Regions from separate parts of the Homo sapiens genome. Here all the other regions are linked to region 3. The links are contacts of gene promoters, found by promoter capture Hi-C in blood cells and fetal thymus (Javierre and others, 2016). All regions are on one chromosome and are shown on one strand. Each heading gives the region's core, a stretch centred on a gene start or on the middle of the fragment in contact. The rest is flanking DNA. Distances are from core to core; before and after follow the strand shown. Region 1 has its middle 14 kb from the start of STK33. Region 2 overlaps TRIM66 (tripartite motif containing 66). Region 3 holds the start of AKIP1 (A-kinase interacting protein 1).

Region 1 (3,784 bases), core at 155-2,654, 300 kb before region 3:
AGATTTTACTGGGCACTATATTCTTAATTTGATATTTTCCCTGAAGTACCTTAATCCATTCAAAGGTTTTAACAATGAATATTATGCCCATATTTTTAATATGATCCTTACCTCAAGGCTGAATTTTAATGGGCCTTCAATTCTAAATTTTATCTTAGTCTTCAGCGTCAAGAAGCAATTACCTCTTCAAAACCCTAAGTCCTTGGATTTTTGTATACTATGTATTTTCTTTCACTCCTTAAAAACAGGGCAATTCTTTTCTGAACTCATGTCTTTCTTGAAATAGCTTGATAAACAGAATATCAACCAATGTAGGCTACCAATGTTGTTTTCCAATATCTTCCCCTCTATTGAAATTCATTAAGTACATGATGTGACTCCAAAGTTATCTCAGACTATAGTTTTGCCAAATGTTTTTCCACTGCATAACCTGAATCACTATCCTTCTAGTCACCAATGTCGGTTTCCTTGCTACCTGCTTGCTAGGCCAGTGCCTTGGATCTTAGTGTTTTGTTATTGATTTTTTTTTCTCCAGAGAAACCCAAGCTTCTTTGTACTATAGGCCAGCCTATGCTGCAGTAATAAATAACACACAATTCTCACTGACTTACAACAAAAGTCCTCATTCATGCAAAATTTGCTGCAGATATGGAAAATATTGCAAAGCTTATATTATCCATGTATTAGCACAGCACACCAGACTGGTTCAGACTTAAGCATCTTCATATCAGTGCATGCTCTCAGAATCACCTCAGTAAGGGAAGAGAGAAAATAAACAGAGAATCAAGCACTGGCTCTTATTCAACCTAGCAATGACCTACATCACTGCCACTCTCATTGGCCAATTCAAGTCTCATAAACACACCTGAAATAAGTAAGTGGCGTGCAGTAGTGCAATCTTCCCATGCACTCAGGAGAGGAGCACTAGAATCATTGGAAGGTAACATTTACGTCTTCCCTTCTGCTGTTGGTAGGATCTTCTCTGTCTTGGGTGTTCTGAAGTTTCACTGCAATACGTTTCAAGTTTCTTTTTATTTTTCAAGTGTATTTTGTTCAACATCTTATAGCTATGAATTCATGTCATTCATCACTTCTGGACAGTTCTCAGCCATTATCTCTTCAAATGTTCTCAATGTCTCATGATGTTTTTAGTGTGTTTAAACCAAGACGCAAGTAAGTTCTATATAGTGCAATTGGTTTATATGCTTTTTAAGACTCTTTAAGGTTTCCCCTCCATCTCCCTTTTTTCCCTTTGTAATGTAAACCAAGTTGTTTGTTCCATCGGTCCTTGGAGACTGGATTTTGCTGACTGGATCCTTGTGAAGTCATTTAAGGTGTTCCTCTATTCTCTGCATTTCCTGTCAATTGGGAATTAATCTTTAAATTGGTAGATGTAGAGACTTGTTTAGGTTCAGATTCTATTTGTTTACAAACAAATGCACACAATGTCTGATCGTCTCTTTTTTGGTGATGTGAGCAGCCACAGATGGTCATTGCCTAGATTCATTCATTGAGGGCTAAAAAATGATATTCTAAATCTATCAGTCCTTCTTCAATTACTGTGGAAAACTTTTTAAAAAGAAACTTCCCTCATCAATTATTTGGTTACCAGAGATTCAGTTTATGTAGGAGAAAGAGGACGAATCCTTTATTAAGCTAATTAATAAAATTTACTTTTTATGTTTTCATTGAGACAGGGTCTCTCTCTGTCACCCAGGATGTATAGTACAGTGGCACAATCATGGCTCCCTGCAGCCTCAACCTCTTAGGCTCAAACGATCCTCCCACCTCAGACTCCCAAAGTGCTAAGATTACAGGTGTGAGCCACCATGCCTAGCCCTAATTAATAAATTTCAAAAGTCACAGAGGCACTGCCTTGGCAGAATCTTTACCATAAAGCAACATTGTCAGTGGGCCACACCACAAATGGGAACCACTGGAACAAATGAGGAGTCCTAGATACAAACAACTGCTTCCTCCAGCATCAGGCCTTAGCCCTTAGGCTGGGGCAAGACCGAGGCTGTGGTGTTCCTGTTTACAAGCATGAAGGAGATACTTATTTTCTCCACGAATGTGGAGCTTGGCCTCCGCAGGTCTTACATCTCTGACATAGCTGGAAATCAAGGGTACATCAATTTCCAAAAAAGCTTAGGAATATCGTCCCAGCCCAGTGAGCAAATAAAGCACTGTTTTTGGAATACTGGTTATAATATAGTTAGTTGCTGTAAAAAACAAAACTAAAAGAAACAAAAAACACCCCAGACTGGGTGCCCACACCTATAATCACAGCACTTTGGGAAGCCAAGGCAGGAGGATCGCTTAAGCCCAGGAGTTCATGGCTGCAGTGAGTCATGATCATGCCACTGCACTCCAGCCTGGGTGACAGAGCAAGAGCTTGTCAAAAAAAAAAAGGGAAAACAGATACTGGCTACAACTGCAGAGCTGTCTCTAAGGATTGGTTACACCCTCTCATTTCTCAAAGCATATTCTGTGCAAGGCCTTCAGGAGTGATGTCTATAGGACAAGGGGTCCCCCTCTCCAACCTGGGCATAACTCCAGGGCCCATGGATAAGAGTGCTTCCCAGAGAACAGGCATTCTTATTCTAGGAAGCCCTACATAAAACATGAAGCTGCACCTACAGTCTGTGGTAAATATAGCTTTTATTGCAAATTTTTGAAATTGTTTTTTATAATTTTGCTTTTTAAATTATTTGGCTAGGAGTAATTCATTTAATTTACATTGGGCTCAGGTTTCTTGGCAATTATCTTGTGTATATAGAATTTCTTATGAAGCGTGAAACTCTAACTTACAAATTGTTTTCAGGTATAACAGAATTTTTATGAAACTTTATGAAATTGTTATAAAATTAACAATTATAGGTTTAACATGATATATAGACGTTTAATAAGACATTTATGTATAATTTGCCATTTTTCATTTTATATTGTTTCAGGACTTTTTTTTTCTTCTTGAGATGGAGTTTTGCTCATGTTCCCCAGGCTGGAGTGCAATGGCGCAATCTCAGCTCATGCAACCTCCACCTCCCGGGTTCAAGCGATTCTCCTGCCTCAGCCTTCCGAGTAGCTGGGATTACAGGCATGCACCACCAGGTGCGGCTAATTTTGTATTTTTAGTAGAGACGGGGTTTCTCCATGTTGGCCAGGCTGGTCTTGAACTCCCGACCTCAGGTGTTCTGCCCGCCTCAGCCCCTCAAAGTGCTGGGATTACAGGCGTTAGCCACTGCACATGGCCAGGAGTTTTTTTTTTTTTTTTTTTTTGAGACAGGGTCTCACTCTGTTACCCAGGCTGGAGTACAGTGGCACGATCATGGCTCACTTCAGCCTCAACCCCCAGGCTCAAAGTGATCCTCCCACTTCAGCCTCCTGAATAGCTGGGTCTACAGGTGTGTGCTACCACACCTGGCTAATTTTTTTTTTAAGAGACAGGGTCTTGCTATGTTGCCCAGGCTGGTCTTGAACTCCTAGGCTCAAACAATCTTCCCACCTTGGCCTCCCAAAGTGCCAGGGTTATAGGTGTGAGCCACAGTGCCTGGCCAGGACTTATTTTTATAGGCCTTTGAAAGATCCTAGACCCTGGATACTATGCCTCTACTCTCTAGTGGATAAAATAATCCATAGGCCAGGTGGGGAGGAAGAGGAGGTCAAATACTGCCCTACCTATGAGAGCAAGACTTGCTCCAGGGAGCTGGCCTGACTAGCAGCTTGCCATGGAACCCAAGGAGTCGGGGGAGTAGAAGGGCTGTGTCCCTAGAACCTAGAGAAG
Region 2 (4,329 bases), core at 1,511-4,010, 280 kb before region 3:
CTCAGAAGGGCATCTTAAGTTTTTTCATGTTATTATAAAACATAATTTTGTAGATTTCCATTTCTCTTTATTGTTTGTGTACTGTATATAGAAATACAATTGATTTTTGAATACTGACTTTGTATAGACCTTGCTAAAGTCACTCTGGGATTTTCCTTTGGATTTTCTGTGCACACAAATCATGTGCATCCATGAATAGTAAGTTTTTGTTTTGTTTTTCTGAACAGGGTCTTGCTCTGTCACCCTGGCTGGAATGCAGTGGCACAACCACAGCTCACTGCAGCCTTGACCTCCCAGGCTCAAGCAAGCAATCCTCCCACCTCAGCCGCCAGAGTAGCTGGGACTACAGGCGCATAACATCACATTGGCTAACTTTTATTTTTTATTTTTGTAGAGACAAGGTCTTGCTATGTTGCCCAGGCTGGTCTTGAACTCCTAGGCTCAAGCCATCTTTCCACCTTAGATTCCCAAAGTGCTGGGATTACAGGCATGAACCACCACGCCCATCCTGAATGGTAAATCTATTTTTTTTTCTTTACATTTGTTTTTCTTGCCTCACTCCACTAGCTAAGACCTCCAGTACAATATTGAATAGAAGTAGTGATAGTAGCCATCCTAGTCTCATTTCTGAACTCAGAGGATCCTTTCAATATTTCATCACTAAGTAGATTTGATGTAGATTTTTTTATAGATTTAGATCCAGATCTTGGTTGGGCATGGTGGCTCACACCTGTAATCCCAGCACTTTGGGAGACCGAGGCGGGAAGATCGCTTGAGCCCAAGAGTTCAAGACCACCCTAGGCAATATGGTGAAACCCCGTCTCCACAAATGATAGAAAAATTAGCCAGGCATGGTGGCATGGGCCTGTGGTCCCAGATTCTCTGGAGGCTAAGGTGGGAGGATTGCTTGAGCCCGGAAGGTTGAGACTGCAGTGAGCCAAGATCGTGCCACTACACTCCAGCCTAGGCAACAGAGGAAGACCCTGTCTCAAAAAAAAAAAAAAAAAAAAAAAAAGAGAGAGAATCCAGATCTTTGGTACCAAAGCTACAACTTAATTTTGACTTGTCTCCCTCCATACCTCTCTGGGCTTACTCCCCTTCACTATCTCTCATATTCTGTTCTATTTCTTTTCCTTCCCCCTCTTCTCCTCTCTCCCTCCTCTCTCATGAGCTCCTTCTCTCTCTTCCTGTCCTGCTTTCTTTTATCATCTCTTTCTCTTCTTTCCCTACCTCTTTCCCTTATAATTTAACTGCTTTAGTAAGGCTTATATTTTCTATTCTTAATTTTAAACACAGATGAGTTAAATATCTTTTATCTCTCCAAAGAAAAGTATGCTTTTTATATTTTCCTTAGTAGTTTAATAGTGTTCAGTTTTTTAAAAAGCTTCCATTTCCTCCACAGTCTGAGTGCCAAGACAAGAAGGGTTGAAGAGAAGCAAGGTGGAAAGAATATTTAAACCAAATTGGGTAAGCTAGGAATGAAGCCCAGCTTAAGGGACCAAGGCCAAAAATCAATGGCTATCTCAAACATGCCCAGGCCTGCATTCCTTAATGTCTCCTTGTTGTCCTGGTTATGCACTACCATAGCTTTCTAATATTCTATATTTCCTTATCTATGAACAAGAACACCCAGTGACTATTTCATTCCGTTTTGCAATATATGACAGTCTAATCCTTTGCACTGGATTCTTTCTCCTTTCCCCTATTTGACATGTATGTTTAGTGTGGTTTTGGCGCTCATTTAATCTACCCATGCTGGACATTGAGAATTATATAGATGTCTCTTCTTAGTGAGATCCTTGTTGCCAAGCATTAAGAGCACTAAAATCCACGTGAGACCACCCAAATAATAATGGTCAGGTGCCATACGTCACAAGATATGCACAAGATAAAATCCCCAAGGACAAAACTTCCCAGATTAGGGGTAGAGATCATATTCGTGGGAAATTGGCTCTCCTGTCCTAATTACCTATTGCACATGTGAGTTAACATAATGATAGGGGAGAGGAAGACATGCAGACTGAGCTGTGGAAAAATTGCGGAAACTCCATGGCAGTTTATTTTGAGGTGAACCTGATGAACCTGGTCCCGTAATGCCCAGAAGACAATACGAGGTCAGCAATACATCCCAAGATATTGCATACTTGACTGATTTATTTCCTTTTCACAGCCACAGCCAATCTCAAGGAGGCCAATGCTATCAGGAGAGGGGGTGAAGCTCTGGTAGTATTAACAAGAATGTGGAAAATTTCCACGGAGGAAGGGACTCAGAGAAAGTGCTGTGAGAAAGCCAGCCCAACCCCATTTTTACAGGCTATGCAGACACAATGGCATTTCTGAAACCTATATATGCTATGTGTTAGTTATTTTTATACTATATCGGCTCTCTAGAGTGAAGGGTTGTAAAATATTAAAACAAAAGGTACTTATTTCATGTACAAAAAGAAAAAGAAGATTTGAGAACCTTCATCCTAGTCTGTTGCTAGTGCTACAAGATGGGTGGGGGCAAGGGTAGGGCCAACCTTCAGAGCAAGGAAAGCAGGCTGAGTCTCCAGGGCCTGGGAGGAGAGGAAGCACTTCTCAAGAGCATGATGGGATTGGAAAAGGGCTTGAGAGCGTGGCCAGGTTGTCTGACACTTGGTGCCACCCATGCAGAAGGGAGCTCACTTGTCAATGGAGATGATACCACCCACCCTCTAGACCCCAGGATTGTTCAGAGGTCAAATGACAGGAGGTGAATGTGTATTTCTAGCTATAAAGTACGTAGAGGGTTATCACTGAGGTTTCTAGGCTGTCAACTGTGTAACTGACACCTTGACTTCATCTTTACATACAAAACCTCTAGATTTCATGAAGGAAAAGGTATATTTTGAGATTCACTACTGAAAATAAACTATTTTCTAGTTCAGAGAGGAAGAGTCAAAATGCCAAAACACATTCACTCTGATAATCAGCTCAGGTCATCTTTGGGAGATGGAGAGAGACAACCCTGAGCCTACAGAGCCCCCTCTTACCTCCCTTAACTAGCATCTCCTCTCGATCCTCGTTTCCCTTCCCCCAAACTGTGTGTCCCCGTCCCTGTCCCTTTCCTCTTGCCTCTTTTTTGTCTCCTTATCTTTGTCTGCCACCTGTCTGACTTATCTGAAATTACCTCACCTATTAATTTAATGGATTCAGTTAACCTATTTAACCTACCTGTCTTTACCATCTAACTTGACAACTTGCCTGACCTACGACTTCCCTGAATTGTCTGACTTTCAACCTCTGCTACTAGTCACCTATGTGACCCTGCACCCATCTAACCTGAATTCTGCTTGACCTGTGCTCTGTCACCTGCTGCCCTCTCTCTCTCCTCACTCTTACCACCCAGATGTGTTTCTAGAGTTCAGTGTGTTGACATTATTATTCTAATGATTGCCACATGGTATTGTCAAAATTCAGATAAAACATTGCTCTTTCATTTTAACAGGAAGGGAAATTGAGACACAGAGTGATTACCTAGATTTCCCAAGCTCATACAGGTCCAAGACTAGGAATCTGGGACCAGCCTTGAAAACAGGCTGGCTAGTCTTGATTCTGTGCCAGAAGCTAGAAAGCTAGTGCCCTAGTAAGAAATGATTGAGAAATCAATAAACAGACACTTAGTGCACATGCCCTGAGTTTAATATAAATTTCAGGTTCTTACAGCAAGATAATATTGCTGGGGATAAAGTAATGCAGATAGGGTGGTGTTCCACATAAATTAACTTTCCAGTTATCTGAAACATACCTCTTTCAATAACAAAATGCAATTGGCTTAAAAACATTATTTCAAATGGGAGTACTTCTAAAACACTTTACACACTCTTCTGTCTTATTAAGCAGAGCATAAGGAGGCTAAGGAGACCATTTCTTAGTGATATCAAGGAATTTGGATGAACCAATAAGTAATTCAGTGATGCTTTCGGGAACTTCTAAGAATGCAGGGCTTAGCTTGTTCTTTCAGTGAATGACCTCATACCGTGGCACTTTTCCAAGTGATGTTTCTTGTCTTCTCCCTTGTTAGCTGCCCTTATAGAAATCTTGACTCCCTGCCTCTACTCTGCTTACTACTATAATGTAGCTAAACTAAAACTTTCCCAAGAAAACCATATATTTAAGCTTGCTAGATCAAGAACACCGGCTAGATACCCACATATGAGTTTATGATTTCCTACAGAATATAATGCATGAGTTTTGTGATGGCTGTTTTTGCTGCTGTTCCAAAGCTTTGCCTCATCACTTCTAGTTTCAGATTTCTGTTCTAGTGGTTAAAGTAATCAGAAACTGACCACTGTGTAAATATGCAAT
Region 3 (4,402 bases), core at 1,860-4,359:
CCGCTACTTAACAGGTCCTGGAATGTTTAGGGACAAATAAGGAACAGTTTCTGCCTTCAAGGAATTGAAAGGCTATTGGGAGAGAAGAAACCATAACTACACATAATTTAAATTAGATTGGAAAAGTACACACAAAAAATTTTTTTAAGGCTATGGCAACAGAGGTGGCAACTGGGAACCACTGGGAAAAGTTTCAAAGAGCTGACCTGACAAAAAGAAAGTAGTGCCTCAACTGGAATGACTAAAATAGAATGGGGAAGAGAGACAAATGAGATGAGGTGTGGCTATGATACTGGGTAAGTGAGAGCATATTTTGGGAGACCAGGCTGAAGCTTAAGATAATAATACTAGCTAATATTTATTGAGCACCTACTATGTACCAAGTACTATAAATGCACTTTATAGATATTAACTTACTTGATATTCACAATAACCCTATGAGGAATGTGCTAAAACCTTGAAATCCATAAAAAATAAAGAGGACCAAATTCTGTCCCACTCCAACCACACTTATTGTAAAAGCAGTTAACGGGTATCTTATCTACCTCTTCTCTCACTGATTCCTAGGCCATCAGGCCTAGCTTGAAAACTACATTCTCTGCAAAACCTTTCTTGATCCTCCCAGCTGAACATAGTCTCCTAAGCTTGATAGCATTTTATCTGTGTCAATCTTATGGCATGTCCGAATATTTTGTTCTTGGTATTATAGATTTTATGTGCATTCTTTCCTCTTTTTTATTCTCCTTTAGTCTGATCCACATTCTGTTCTCCACAACTCCTAGGGCAGTGCCTGGCACATACTAATGCTAGCTAAGTCTATGGAGCACTTATCTTTGCCGGGCACTGTGCTAAGCATTTTACAGGAATTATCTCACAGAATCCTAATGGCAACCCAATTCACACATTCAAGGGCTATTTTTAGTCCTTACTGTGACAGACAAAATAGTAAATACTAGATGCACCTTAAACTCTAAACACTACAGATACAGTCCCTTCCCTCAAGAAGCTCAGTCTAAAGAAGTTAGTACTATTGGAATCCCCAGATATAGAGATGAGGAAAAGTGAGGCTCAAAGAAGTAATATGTTTGCCCAGAACCACAGAGCAAAAAAGTGGCAGAGAGCCTGGGCAACATAGGGAGACCCTGTCTCTACGAAACATTTAAAAAATTTGCAGGGCGTGGTGGCTGAAGAAGAGGATCGCTTGAGCCCAGGAGGTCGAGGCTGCAGTGAGCCGAGATCGTGCCACTGCACTTCAGCCTGGCTGACAGGGTGATACCCTCGTTTCTTTATTAAACAAAAAAGAAGAAGAAGGAAGAAGGAAGAAGAGGAAGAAGAGGAAGAGGAAGGAGGAGGAGGAGGAAGAAGGAGAAGGAGAAGGAGAAGGAGAAGAAATGGAAAAAAAAAGATGGCAGAGCCAGAATTCAAACCAGCTCTCCCGAGTGGATATACAGGACCCCATGCACGTACAACCACTATGTTCTAAAGGAGGCACTTGATAAACCCTTATTGAAGGAAATGTTTTGGAATACCAATAAAATGAAAAAAAAATCATCTCAAGAATAATGTAGGGTTTCACTCACTGTTATTCTTTTTTATAAGGGGAAAGCAGGAAATTTGCAAAAGTTAAGTAGCATAGAAGGAGGTCGTATTGGTCGGCTACTACTCACCTGGTACCTGATAATTGCTCATCAAGCCATCTGTTGAGACTAGGTGAGGATGGAGTTTCTCTCCTTTTTCATGAACCACAGAGGAGACTTAAAGGAGGATTTATTTGTGTTCCTTAAAGTGACCCCCACTGAGCGTGTCCCTCAAAGTGGACCTTCCTAAGCATCGGCGCTTTGCTTTGCGCTGGGTGGTGCGGCTGAGTCACTAATTAGCAGTGAGAGCCTGGGCTGTATCTCCTACCAAATAACCAGCGGAGTGGAGTGACAGGTCCTTACTTAAACATGGTTTAAGTAAGCATTCACAGTTCCTTACTTAAACATGGTGCAGTCTTCCTAAAAGATGGAGTCAGACCCCAAGAGAACAGGTCTCCAAAAATATGTGAATCCGTACTTCCCACTGGAGGGGAGAGAGAGCTGCGCTGAGGGATTATGAGAGACCCTACAACTTCTCAGGCGCCCCCTGCCCCGGGGGCCAGGAACATCTGCAGACAGCCCCGCCTCCGTCTCGCCTCAATCCCGAGCTGTTCCCTTCTCCAAAGGCCACCTTGGCAGCCACACAGTTTGGCCTAATCACCTCCTCAAACAAGAGTAGCGACACCCCAAAATGTAGACCAAGCAGAAAGAGGCGCGGGAGGCACTTGCCTTATTCCCCATGATGTTTTTGTTTTGAGACGAAGTCTTCCTCTGTCGCCCAGGCTGGAGTGCAGTGGCGCGATCTCGTCTCACTGCAACCTCCGCTTCCCGGGTTCAAGCGATCCTCCCACCTCGACCCTCCCGAGTACCTGGGACTACAGATGCGCGCCACCACTCCTCCTACTGTGTGTGTGTGTGGACACGGGTTGTCGCTATGTTGCCTACCTAGCTGGTACCCCATAACCACTCCTGGCTAGTGTGTGTGTGTGTGTGTGGACACGGGTTGTCGCTATGTTGCCTACCTAGCTGGTACCCCATAACCACTCCTGGCTAGTGTGTGTGTGTGTGTGTGTGTGTGTGTCTACACGGGTTCTCGCTATGTTGCCTACCTAGCTGGTACCCCATAATTTTTTAGCTCAACAGGAGACCTGCCTTTATACCCACCAAGTTAAGCAGCGCAGTAGCCCTCTAAGGGCCAGCCCCACGCCCAGAGGCTCCTCTGACAGCGTGGACAGATGCCCTGGGCTGCTGGCTCGACTCAGTCCTCAGCCCCCAGCCCCCGACCCCCGACCCCCGGCCCCCGACCCCCGACCCCCGGCCCCCAGCGCCCGGCGCCCCGCCTCCAGCGCTCAGCAGTTAACCAGGCAACTCGCGCGCAGACGCCAAGGCTGGGACGCAGAAGGCGTGTTTGGCCGCCCAGCCGCCCCGCCTCCCCCACTTCTCCCGCCTCTCCCGCCTCTCCCGCCTTCCGCCAATGGCCCAGCTGCGCCGGCGCCGCCGGGAGCGCTAGGCCTGGTCCCTCTTCCTAGAATAGCGTTGCGCGCATGCGCCTTGACGAGTGAGCCGGGTGAGGGGGCTCCCTAAGTAGCGGAAGGGGTAGATGAAAATGGAAGGGGCGGGCGCGCTAGGCCTAGTCCTGGCTGGGCTCCCGCTGGAGTGTGCGTTGGGGGCGGACCAGGAGCGGTGGTCTCCAGGGAGGTCGAGGCTGGGGCTCCCACCCGGATTTGGAGCAGGGTCGCCGCGGCCCAGCTGACCCGCCGGCGTTTGTACGTTGTGTGCCCACTCAGGGAGCCATGGACAACTGTTTGGCGGCCGCAGCGCTGAATGGGGTGGACCGACGTTCCCTGCAGCGTTCAGCAAGGCTGGCTCTAGAAGTGCTGGAGAGGGCCAAGAGGAGGGCGGTGGACTGGCATGCCCTGGAGCGTCCCAAAGGCTGCATGGGGGTCCTTGCCCGGGAGGCGCCCCACCTAGAGAAACAGCCGGCAGCCGGCCCGCAGCGCGTTCTCCCGGGAGAGGTGAGGGTCGCTGTGCCGGGGGCCGCCCCAGTCCTTCGCGCCGCGGTAGCCCGCTGGGAGCCAGGGGTGCGCAGCGCAGAAGCAGCTGAGGAAACCTTCCCTTAGCGGAAGCTGGAAAGGATCAGAACAATGAATGGAAAAGTCCTTTCAAAACGCTTTACATTTGACAGATTCTTGTTGGGTAGCTGTAGAATAACGGTAGTGTTCAGCCCTGGTTGGTTACTTAAAAAAAAAAAAAAAAATTAGCCGGGCGCGGTGGCTCATGCCTGCAATCCCAGCACTTTGGGAGGCCGAGGCGGGCGGATCACCTGAGGTCGGGAGTTCGAAAGCAGCCTGACCAACATGGAGAAATCCCGTCTCTACTAAAAATACAAAATTAGCCGGGCGTGGTGGCGCATGTCTGTAATCCCAGGTACTAGGGAGGCTGAGGCAGGAGAATCGCTTGAACCCGGGAGGCGGAGGTCGCGGTGAGCCGAGATCGCGCCATTGCACTCCAGCCTGGGCAACAAGAGCGAAACCTCCGTCTCAAAAAAAAAAAAAAAAAAAAAATCTTACAGCTATCATCTGATAGTAGAGGAAAGCCTGCAAGCCTGTCTCTTAGATCCTGGATAAATTGCATGTCTATCTTTTAGAGTTGGAATTCTTTCTCAATAACATCGTTCTTTCTGACATAAACTTGCAGAGCCTTTCCAAAAGTAAAAAGGAGACTATTTCCAAAATGGCTTCATTCTCCAGTAGGGAATCCTAGAGCTAACCTGTGACGTGCCATTTATTCAAATAGAGAGAAGAGAGACCCCCAACCCTTAGTGC

The links. Contacts are between HindIII fragments. The CHiCAGO score rates a contact against its expected background, and 5 or more counts as called.
Region 1: a fragment that was not itself captured here is called in contact with the fragment with the promoter of AKIP1 in region 3 in 1 of 17 cell types (M1 macrophages); the score reaches 5.6 in M1 macrophages.
Region 2: a fragment that was not itself captured here is called in contact with the fragment with the promoter of AKIP1 in region 3 in 1 of 17 cell types (M0 macrophages); the score reaches 6.0 in M0 macrophages.

The regions. Positions count from the first base shown.
Region 1 is chr11:8,606,477-8,610,260 of GRCh38, forward strand. No RefSeq gene overlaps it. Among named protein-coding and RNA genes, the nearest start is that of STK33, 14 kb to the left of the region's middle. The HindIII fragment of the contact is 1,481 bases long and covers 665-2,145 here.
Region 2 is chr11:8,627,623-8,631,951 of GRCh38, forward strand. All of the region lies in intron 15 of TRIM66 (tripartite motif containing 66), which reads right to left. Among named protein-coding and RNA genes, the nearest start is that of STK33, 36 kb to the left of the region's middle. The HindIII fragment of the contact is 2,756 bases long and covers 1,383-4,138 here.
Region 3 is chr11:8,908,080-8,912,481 of GRCh38, forward strand. AKIP1 (A-kinase interacting protein 1) reads left to right here and starts at 3,110. Exons shown (of 6, transcript NM_020642.4): 1 at 3,110-3,144; 2 at 3,365-3,592; 3 at 4,374-4,402. The coding sequence starts at 3,371. It also overlaps a transcript of DENND2B not described here. RefSeq lists a silencer at 2,875-3,154 and enhancers at 3,245-3,314, 3,325-3,414. The HindIII fragment of the contact is 8,527 bases long and covers 643-4,402 here.